3 separate regions of the Homo sapiens genome follow, and all the other regions are linked to region 2. The links are contacts of gene promoters, found by promoter capture Hi-C in human tissues and cell types (Jung and others, 2019). All regions are on one chromosome and are shown on one strand. The core of a region is centred on a gene start or on the middle of the fragment in contact, and the rest is flanking DNA. Distances in the headings are between cores, read along the strand shown. Region 1 overlaps IFI35 (interferon induced protein 35). Region 2 holds the start of NBR1 (NBR1 autophagy cargo receptor). Region 3 has its middle 9.8 kb from the start of RND2.

Evidence for each region. The method cuts DNA at HindIII sites, captures the fragments that hold promoters and counts their contacts. A contact is called where the count stands out against the background at its distance.
Region 1: a fragment that was not itself captured here is called in contact with the fragment with the promoter of NBR1 in region 2 in 1 of the 25 tissues and cell types used here (lymphoblastoid cells).
Region 3: a fragment that was not itself captured here is called in contact with the fragment with the promoter of NBR1 in region 2 in 2 of the 25 tissues and cell types used here (lymphoblastoid cells and pancreas).

Annotation. Positions count from the first base shown.
Region 1 is chr17:43,013,356-43,016,259 of GRCh38, forward strand. IFI35 (interferon induced protein 35) reads left to right here. Exons shown (of 7, transcript NM_001330230.2): 4 at 1-18; 5 at 121-307; 6 at 421-527; 7 at 753-1,101. The coding sequence ends at 944. It overlaps VAT1 (vesicle amine transport 1), which reads right to left. Exons shown (of 6, transcript NM_006373.4): 6 at 1,252-2,789. The coding sequence ends at 2,706. Among named protein-coding and RNA genes, the nearest start is that of VAT1, 7.6 kb to the right of the region's middle. The HindIII fragment of the contact is 4,481 bases long and covers 1-2,904 here.
Region 2 is chr17:43,169,453-43,172,588 of GRCh38, forward strand. It overlaps NBR1 (NBR1 autophagy cargo receptor), which reads left to right and starts at 1,762. Exons shown (of 21, transcript NM_005899.5): 1 at 1,762-1,850. LOC101929767 (a long non-coding RNA gene) reads right to left here and starts at 951. Exons shown (of 2, transcript NR_110868.1): 1 at 674-951. It overlaps LOC124900391 (a long non-coding RNA gene), which reads right to left and starts at 1,512. Exons shown (of 2, transcript XR_007065760.1): 1 at 964-1,512. It also overlaps a transcript of BRCA1 not described here and the pseudogene BRCA1P1. RefSeq lists enhancers at 583-792, 1,063-1,112, 1,363-1,472, 1,793-1,902. The HindIII fragment of the contact is 14,047 bases long and covers 1-3,136 here.
Region 3 is chr17:43,033,529-43,036,537 of GRCh38, forward strand. No RefSeq gene overlaps it. Among named protein-coding and RNA genes, the nearest start is that of RND2, 9.8 kb to the left of the region's middle. RefSeq lists a silencer at 2,764-3,009. The HindIII fragment of the contact is 5,034 bases long and covers 1-3,009 here.

The sequences.
Region 1 (2,904 bases), core at 263-2,762, 160 kb before region 2:
ATGGTCACCACCATCCAGGTGATGGTATGACAGAATCCTGGGGCATGCAAAGCATGCCATGCACCTGGGCATGGGGAAGTGGAGCTGTGTCTGGGACCACCCCTTGCTGTCTCCCCCTAGATGTCCAGCCAGTTGAGTGGCCGGAGGGTGTTGGTCACTGGATTTCCTGCCAGCCTCAGGCTGAGTGAGGAGGAGCTGCTGGACAAGCTAGAGATCTTCTTTGGCAAGACTAGGAACGGAGGTGGCGATGTGGACGTTCGGGAGCTACTGCCAGGGAGTGTCATGCTGGGGTTTGCTAGGGATGGAGGTGAGGGCTATGCAGGCCTCCTGCAGGGGAGAGGGTATAGGGTGTGCAAGATTACGGTGCAGGGAGAGGAGAGGGCTTGATGCTAAAGGCCCACCCCTCCTTGCTCCCCACAGTGGCTCAGCGTCTGTGCCAAATCGGCCAGTTCACAGTGCCACTGGGTGGGCAGCAAGTCCCTCTGAGAGTCTCTCCGTATGTGAACGGGGAGATCCAGAAGGCTGAGGTAAGCAGGAGGGGTGAAGAACAGGGGCTGGGCTGGGTAACCTGTCTGCCTGCCAGGAACTTGCCCAATGAAGGATCAGAGGCCCCAAACCCCACTGACCTACCTACCCACCATCAGCCTCTCCAGGCCTCCCGACCTCATACCCCCATGGGGCACTGCCTGCCCTACCCCCAGCCCCCAGCCCTTCTCCCATGAGCCTTTGCCATCTCCTGGCTCCTTTTCCAGATCAGGTCGCAGCCAGTTCCCCGCTCGGTACTGGTGCTCAACATTCCTGATATCTTGGATGGCCCGGAGCTGCATGACGTCCTGGAGATCCACTTCCAGAAGCCCACCCGCGGGGGCGGGGAGGTAGAGGCCCTGACAGTCGTACCCCAAGGACAGCAGGGCCTAGCAGTCTTCACCTCTGAGTCAGGCTAGGGGCCTCCCCTTCTCATCCTCCCCACCCCCCCGCCAAGGTTCTCACACTGGCCTGGGCTTGGGTGCCCATATAGGAGGTCTGTATGTTCACCAACAGTGCGGAGGGGTCACACATTGCAAAACACTGCCCAGAACAGTAAAAAGAGCCTGCATGCCATGATGTTCTTCCTCATTTCACTCATGAAAGGAAACGTGATTTGGGCATGGAAAGAGGCAGGGGGCAGGAAGCAGCCCAGATCTTCTGCTGGCAGCACTAGCCTTCCAGGAGCTCACCTTCCCTCCACTCTCAGAGGCAACAAGCAGGACCCAGGGTTTGGCTTTTTATTGACACAAACACACAAAGGCAGCTGTGGTAATGGGGTGGTGGGGTACACAAAAGCAGAAATCGCACTTCACACATTTAGGCCTCATTTAGACAATGAGGAGGCTGAGCCTGTCCCTCCACCTCCCATTGCAATGGTTGGGGCAATAACCCTCCCTAATCCTAGCTCAGTGAGTAGAGGGAGTGACCTCCCTACCCAGGAAGTCCCCATTTTGGTTGCAATGGCCCAGGTCCTGACCATCCCACTCTGTACTTCCCTGCTCCATCTCCCCACCCATGTAAACAGAGTTTTGGGCTGAGTTTGATAAGCTGCCTCTCTGCTTTGAGAAGGCAGTAGGGCCTCCCCTAACTGCAAGGGGAATGTGCTTGGATTTTTACTTTGGTCCCAGTACAAGAAACAGACAGCACTGCCTTTCAGAGCTCTGGCTAGTAAATGCCACACATATCTGCAAGGCTGAGGAAGCTTCCCCGCCTTTCTCCTCAACCACCATAGAGACGGGACATGGCACAGACCACGATGAGGGCACCTGTTTTTGCCCTGCCTCCCCAGGAGGCTTGGGGCTGCCCCACCCAATGGCACATACACAGATTTTTGGCAGTGTTGTGGGACTGGGGAGGAGAGAAACCCCAGCTCCACCAGAACAAGGAAGGCACTGGGGAGTACAGGGGAGGAGAAGGAGGTGGGAAACAGGATCCTCCCTCCCCGCCGCCACACACACACAAGCACAGGTTTTCGTTGCTAAGGCACTGAGAACAAATCCAGAGAACTCAGTGAAGGGTGGGGGCTCTGTATCCTTCCCAGAGTTGTGACCTAGGGGAGTAGGTCTGATTCCCGCCCTGTTGGAAGAGGCAGCCTTGGTTAAGAATGGCAGAAAACCTGGAGATGGAAGAAGCCCAATTGTGCTTAAGAAGTTGGGGACAGAGGACGAGATTGGGAACTGGTCAAGCCCAGAGGCGGGCACTGGTCAGCCCAGGCTGAAGGGACACTAGGGAGAGACAGGTACATGCTGGACTCACAGAGATTGGCCCCATATCCTGAGCTGACGTTTCAATTCTTTGGGGAGGTGGCGGGGCAGGGACGGGAGGAAAGATGAGGCAGAGGTGAAAGCACATGGAACACAACAGGGGGGACTGGCTAACCTTGGCACAAAAGCAGCACAGCAGGCCCGGGGAAAGGGTGGGGGCAGGAAGCAGCCGGCCTCCCTCTGACCCTCCCTGTCGCCTTGGCAGGGCCCAGACATCCAAATGGTCACTTCCCAACCTCTTCAGAGGTCAGGAAGCGGGGAGGGGCAGGGGAGAGCGGTCATCACCACAGAGACCTTCGGGGGAGGGAGGGCAGAGCATTATGACAGAGGCTGAAATGCAAGTCTGGTGGCCAACAGAACGTAGCTTCCCAACTTCTCCCTTCGCTGGTCTCTAGGGTCTCACAGCCACTTGCCCTAGTTCTCCTTCTCTGGCCCTGGAACCAGGAGGACCTTGCCCACATTCTTCTTCTCCTGCATCTGTTTCATGGCATCAGCCACCTGGGGAGGAAGGAAAGATGCGGCTCCCAGTGCTATCCAACCCTCATCCAACAAGAGCCAGTGTGATGCAGGCAGCCCTCCTCTTCCCCAGGAATCTGCCCCTTGGGACCCCAGC
Region 2 (3,136 bases), core at 512-3,011:
CACCATCCCCGGCGACCAGCTGATGTTCTTATACACATGGTGTCCCCTTCAAGGCACATTCCAGTTCCTATCAGGAGGATTCCTCCTCGGACACACTGTGCCCCCAACCTGATCCTTAGTGCTTCCCTCGAGACCTACAAACTGCCCCCTTCCCCGGGGGGTTCACAACGCCTTATGCCTCTCAGGTTCCGCCCCCGCCCCTCGCATAAGAATACCCATCTGCCTAGCTTCGGAAATTCACTTTCCCCCGCCCGTCCCCCGGAGCATCCCTTGGGCCCCTGTCCCTTTCCCGGGGCTCTTCTACCTTAACCCAGAGCAGAGGGTGCAGGCCTCCTGAGCCCAGGGGCCCAGTTATCTGAGAAACCCCACGGCCTGTCCCCCGTCCAGAACGTCTCAGCGAGCTCACGACGCGCAGTCACGTTTTTTTCCCCCCCTCTACACTGCAGATGTGGCTCCCAATGTTGACGTTGGCCAGGACCTTTGCAAACAAGCCAGGCCAAAAAGTTTCAATATTTACACTGGCTGCTTTAATAAGGGCATTGATCTTATCCTCCGTAAAGGTCACCTCATAGTCCTGCAGAATGAGGGCAGAGTAGATGCAGGCAAGCTGGGAGACGGAGGCCATAGCGCGGGCGAGTGTGGGGCTGGGGCTGCCGGACGCGGTGCTACTCACCGGATGAAGTGAGGGTCTCACCCCAACGCGGCCTTAGCTTCCTCGGAAGGACCGAACACCTTGGCGGCAGCCGAGGAAAGGGGTTCCACAGTTTTAATTTATCTGTAATTCCCACGCTTTACTGTTGCCACGGAAACCGCTGAGCAATAGCCTCTCAGAATAGGAAATCAAGACACAGTCAGAGGAAGGGCGGGACAGAAAGAGCCTAGCATCTCTCGGGGCTCTGGGTTGGCCACCCAGTCCTCCCCTGGTGACATAAAAAGAAAGAGACGGAAAAGGAAGAATTCTACCTGAGTTCGCCGTAAAGCGCCCGCCCTCTCGCCTCTACGCTTCCAGTTGCGGCTTATTACGTCACAGTAATTGCTGTACCAAGGTCAGAATCGCCACCTGAGGCCTGAATATCAGCGTAAGATAGTGTCCAAAGCAGTCTTAAGAAGAGGTCCCATTACCCCACTCTTTCCGCCCTAATGGAGGTCTCCAGTTTAGGTAAATAAAAGGATTGTTGGGAGGTGGAGGGAAAGAACTACTATTTCCAACATGCATTGCGGAACGAAAGGCCTTGGCCACACTGTTCCTTGGAAACTGTAGTCTTATGGAGAGGAACATCCAATACCAAAGCGGGCACAATTCTCACGGAAATCCAGTGGATAGATTGGAGACCTCCGCGGGCTTATACATGTCAACAGTAATGGATTGGAGTGTTGTTATGTTCTCCTATCTTGAGAGCAGAGACTAGGCCAAAAAAAGATACCTACAACTCCTAGGAAGACTACGATTCCCATCCAGCCCCACGAGTCTCGGGCAAGTAGTCCTCTAAGGTCAGTGGCCTGCGGGGACGCAGTGGGCGCCGAATTTGCCTGGGGAAGGGGAAATCCGCTCTGGCCCACATCTGCGCACTCCTAGTTCCGCCCCTCAGCCTCAATGTTTGTTATTGTTGTTCGGGTTCAGGTTGCTTCTGCCCCGCCCCATCGACGCAATCTCCACCAATCAATGGCGTGGTCGTTTTGAGGGACAAGTGGTGAGAGCCAATCATCTTGGCGAACACTCGGAGAAACAGGGGACTAGTTACTGTCTTTATCCGCCATGTTAGATTCACCCCACAGGGATAGCGGCAGAGCCGGTAGCGGACGGTCCTTGCATTGGCCTCCGGCAGGCGCCCCCCGGGGGCGGGAAGCTGGTAAGGAAGCAGCTGCGGTTACCTAGGGGTGGGGTCACGTCACGCTAAGAGGGTTTGGGGAAGTTCAAGGGAGGAATCCTGCAAAGAAGAGGGGCGACTTTTTCCGTGTTTCGGGACAGCTAATCTTTTTAGTGACAGGATGAGAGAGCCCTTCATGTTCAGAGGGACCGAGTTGGCGAGAAGCGCCGGAGAGTTGGAGAGTCTGTGGGTCAGAACATCCGGCTTCTACTGATGGAAGGCCACGACTCCCCAGTGGAATGAGGGCCTAGGCAAAGAAAATGAGAGAGCCCTCGGGGTAGTGACACTGTCTTGGGAACATGGAGTGCTAGGAAACGAAAACTGGAAGACTAGGATGAACTCTGCAAGTAAAAAAATGACACTACTTACACATCCTTCTCATCCCATCCTCGTTTTTTCGAGACCTTAAAGAGATCTCCTTGGTTAGGGACCTTCGGTTTTGGAAAGGCACTGTTTTTCCTTTTTGTCAAACACTCAGCTTTCAGGCCACACTTTTTTGAGACAGAGTCTTGCTTTCTCAAAGACCAACCCAGGCTGGGCTTGAACTGCTGAGCTCAAGCGATCCTCGTGCCTTGGCCTCCCAAAGTGCTGGGATTACAGGTATAAGCCACCGCTCCCGGCCTCAGGTCACACATTTTAAAGCCTGGATAACTTGGCTTGTAAAGGCCTCTGGTGGAGACAGTAATCAAAGCTCAGGTTGCCAGGTCTGTTTCATTAAAGGGATTTTGTTGAGGCTGAAAAAAAAATCGACGTGGAGGAAAAGCTAACTTGTGCCAAGCAAAGGTGAGTCAGTGGCATGGACTTACAATAATGCCAGTTATGAAAGCTGAAGGCCTAAGACCCAGCTATCTGACTCTACTGGCTGTAGACCTAAGGGGCAGATAGGGTTAACCATAGCTTTGGTGTTTACACACGTTTAAGATTAATGCTCCTGCTGAAAGAATTTTTTTACATGTCAGCCAAAGAGAGTTCCTTATGAAGACCTGGATATGGTCCAGCCAAGCTAGAATCTCCCACTTCCTGTTTTCTCTTAGTTGGCCCACCAGCTGGAGGAGCTCCAGAGTATCTAAATTTCCAATTGTGTAATTTGAGAAAAAGAGAGGAAGATTCATTTCCTTCACAAGTAGGGAAGTGTGTTTCTTGAAGTTGGAAAGTGATATTTCAGAATACCCACTTTTGGCGGACTGAGTCACTTCATTTCCTTGATTTTTTGCCTAAGGTCCTGGGGAATTGACAAAGATTCTCAAATTTTAAGGACCCCAATAATT
Region 3 (3,009 bases), core at 404-2,903, 140 kb before region 2:
TTGTGACTCTGGCCCTCCCAGGGGGTAGTCGTGGGAAGAGCTTCAGGTTCAGAGGCAGAAGTCCCAGGGCCTGGGTTGAGCTCTGCTGCTTCTTCCCTGGGGAATCTTTGGTGAGGCCCAGCACCTCTCTGAACCTCAGTTTTTGCACCTAGAAAAGGGGGCTGATCACCACATCTACCTCATTGTGTTGCTCAGCTGATGTCAACTTTTATTCTTTACAACCAAGACACCAAGGCTTAAGTGCTTCTAAGCTGGGCCTGAGGGAGTTGGGAAAGGCTTCTTGGAGGGGTATTTTGTGCTGGGACTTAAAGGCTGGAGGAAGACAGAAGACAGAAAGCAGGAGGTGGTTATGTCTTGTTCCCACCCCTATCTTGGGGCCTGAAGAGAGCTTTAGTGACTCCTCCAAAGATTGAGGTCCCTCCCTGCCAAATCCCCCTCTGCGAGAAACACCCAAGAATGATCAATAAAAAAAAATAAATAAATTGAAAAAAAAAAAAAAAGATTGAGGTCCCTTGGTCTCCATTTTTCTGAACTCCTCTTATTACGTTTTCTGCAGTCTCTGGGTGAGGACTTCATGTTGCCATAGTGACCCTCTCCCTGCTTCAGATGCACTCAGACTTGTCCTGCAGGCTGAGGAAGGTGTGGGGGGAGGGGTCATGTCCCTGAGATTCCCAGTGGGGCAGGCACTCTTGGCACAGCTCTCTCCCCCAACTCCACATTCTCTTCCCCAGGAAAGGGTTTAGCGTTTTGTTCTCAGTTTGTTCTACACAAGGCAGCTCCTCTCCTGCTTCCTTCCTTCCAGCCAGGTTCCCAGATCTCCCTCCATCTCTGTCTGGTCAATCCCTTACTTGCTGTCCTCAAAGCTGTGAGTGAGGGTCAGAGAGAGGGGAGGCTCCAGGTCGGGAGGTGTGGGATGATTCCTGAGTAGCTACCCGCTAGCAGCGGAGAGACAAGAGAGCCCTGTACACTAGTGCCCCTCCCGACAAGAAAATGCCTCTGCTGTTGACTCCTAAATAACAGATGTCTGTCTGCATATTAATGAGACTGGACGAATAATTGGTGAGTTTTTCATTCAGTGTCAGAATGAACCCGGAGGCCTTATGTTCATGCACACAGACACCCACTCACCCCTGACTCTCCCCTTCCCCCACAGCACAATGAAACAGACGCCAGCAGGCTTGACCCATAAAGGGGAGGGGCAGACAGGGAACCACCAGGAGGGCTGTTAGGGAGGGGTGTTAACAGGAGGGAGACCCCCATGGTTGGTCTGGGTTTGTCAGGTTTCTTTCTTGATCACTGCCTCCCCACCTCCCTGGGGGCAAAAGCTTGCATTTGTGAGATTTCGCCACGCTGCAGAAGGGGCTCAGAGAAGGAGGGGGCTCTGGGGGGACGCAGTCGCTGCCTAGAGGACAGCAACAAAACAGTGGTCTCCTTCAGTGACTTTGTGCCTCCCTTGCGCCTGAAATCAATGAGCCCCTTACCCTGAGTTAGACCCTGTGCCAGGGTGTGAGATGGAAGAACAGAGGTTTTGGAGTCAGGTAACTACAATTTGCTAGCTGGGTGCCCTTGCACAAGTTACTTAACCTCTCTGAGCCTCACCCTTTTTGTCTCTAAGAACACCTACCTTGCAAGATTGAAAGGATGAAATGAGATAAAGTGCATTATGTGTCTGTCTTAGTGCCTGGTTTATAATAGGCCCCAACACATATTTTTCTCTCCCCACCTATCCCCAAAACAAACCAAGACACTTGCTAAATTGCTGCCTCATGCCAGACCCACCTTTGTTAGGGCAGGGGTTAATTAAAAGTCTAGTAATTATCCTAGCTGCCTGGAAACCAAGAGGAAAAGATACAGAGAGGAACAGAAACAGAGAAAAAGAAATAGACCCAGGAGACAGAATGATGGAAACGAAGGCCCCGGGAACAGGAGACCACAGAGATGGGAATAAGGGCACAGAGAAGGTATTATGGGGAAACGAAGTGAACCCTCAAATGACAGTTTAGAATCCAGGCCTGGTGCAGTGGCTCACACTTGTAATCCCAGCTATTCAGGAGGCTGAGGTGGGAGGATCACTTGAACCCAGGTGAGACCAGCCTGGGCAACATAGGGAAACACTGTTTCTAGAAAAAATAAAAGAAATAAAAATTAGCTAAGCGTGGTGGCACATACTTATAGTCCTAGCTACTCAGGAGGCTGAGGTGGGAGGATCACTTGAACCAGGAGTGTGAGGCTGTAGTGAGCAGTGATCATACCACTGCACTCTAGCCTGGATGACAGAGTGGAACCCTATCTCAAAAAAACAAAACAAAACAAAAACCAAACAGGCCCAGTGCTGTGGCTCACACCTGTAATCCTAGCACTTTGGGAGGCCAAGGCTGGAGGATCACTTGAGCCCAGGAGTTCGAGAAAAATGTGGGCAACACAGTGAGACCTTGTCTCTACAAAAAATTAGCCAGGTGTCGTGGCCCACAGAAAGTTGAGGTGGGGGGATCACTTGAGCCTGGGAGGTAGAGGTTGCAGTGAGCTGAGATTGTGCCACTGTACTACTCCAGCCTGGGTGACAGAGCGAGACCTTGTCTCAAAGAAAAAGGATCCAGAGGTTAGAGTTTAAAATGCTTAGTTTTGCTATGTTCTTGCTGTTTGACCACAGCAAGGCTCACCTCCTCTCAGCACCTCAGTCTCTTCTTCTATAAAGTGAAGCGGTGATTTGCTCTCTAAGGTCCCTTCTCATTGTGTGAGAACAAGAGTCCCAGTGGCCTGGGAGCACAGGGGAGGGGAGGCGGCTGCCCACCCTTCAACACTATTACCCATCGGTCACTTGTGCTCTGTCTCCTCTCTCCCTTGGTAAATGGATCTGCTGCGCCAGCAAACAACTGTCCATTGTGTCCTGATGAGGGACGAGCAGGGAAAACCAATCACTTATGATGCAAATGAGCCGACGGCTGCAGCCTCCTCACATTCACTGAGTGCTTCTCTTCTGCCCAGAGCCCGGCGCCGCCCCAGTTGGGC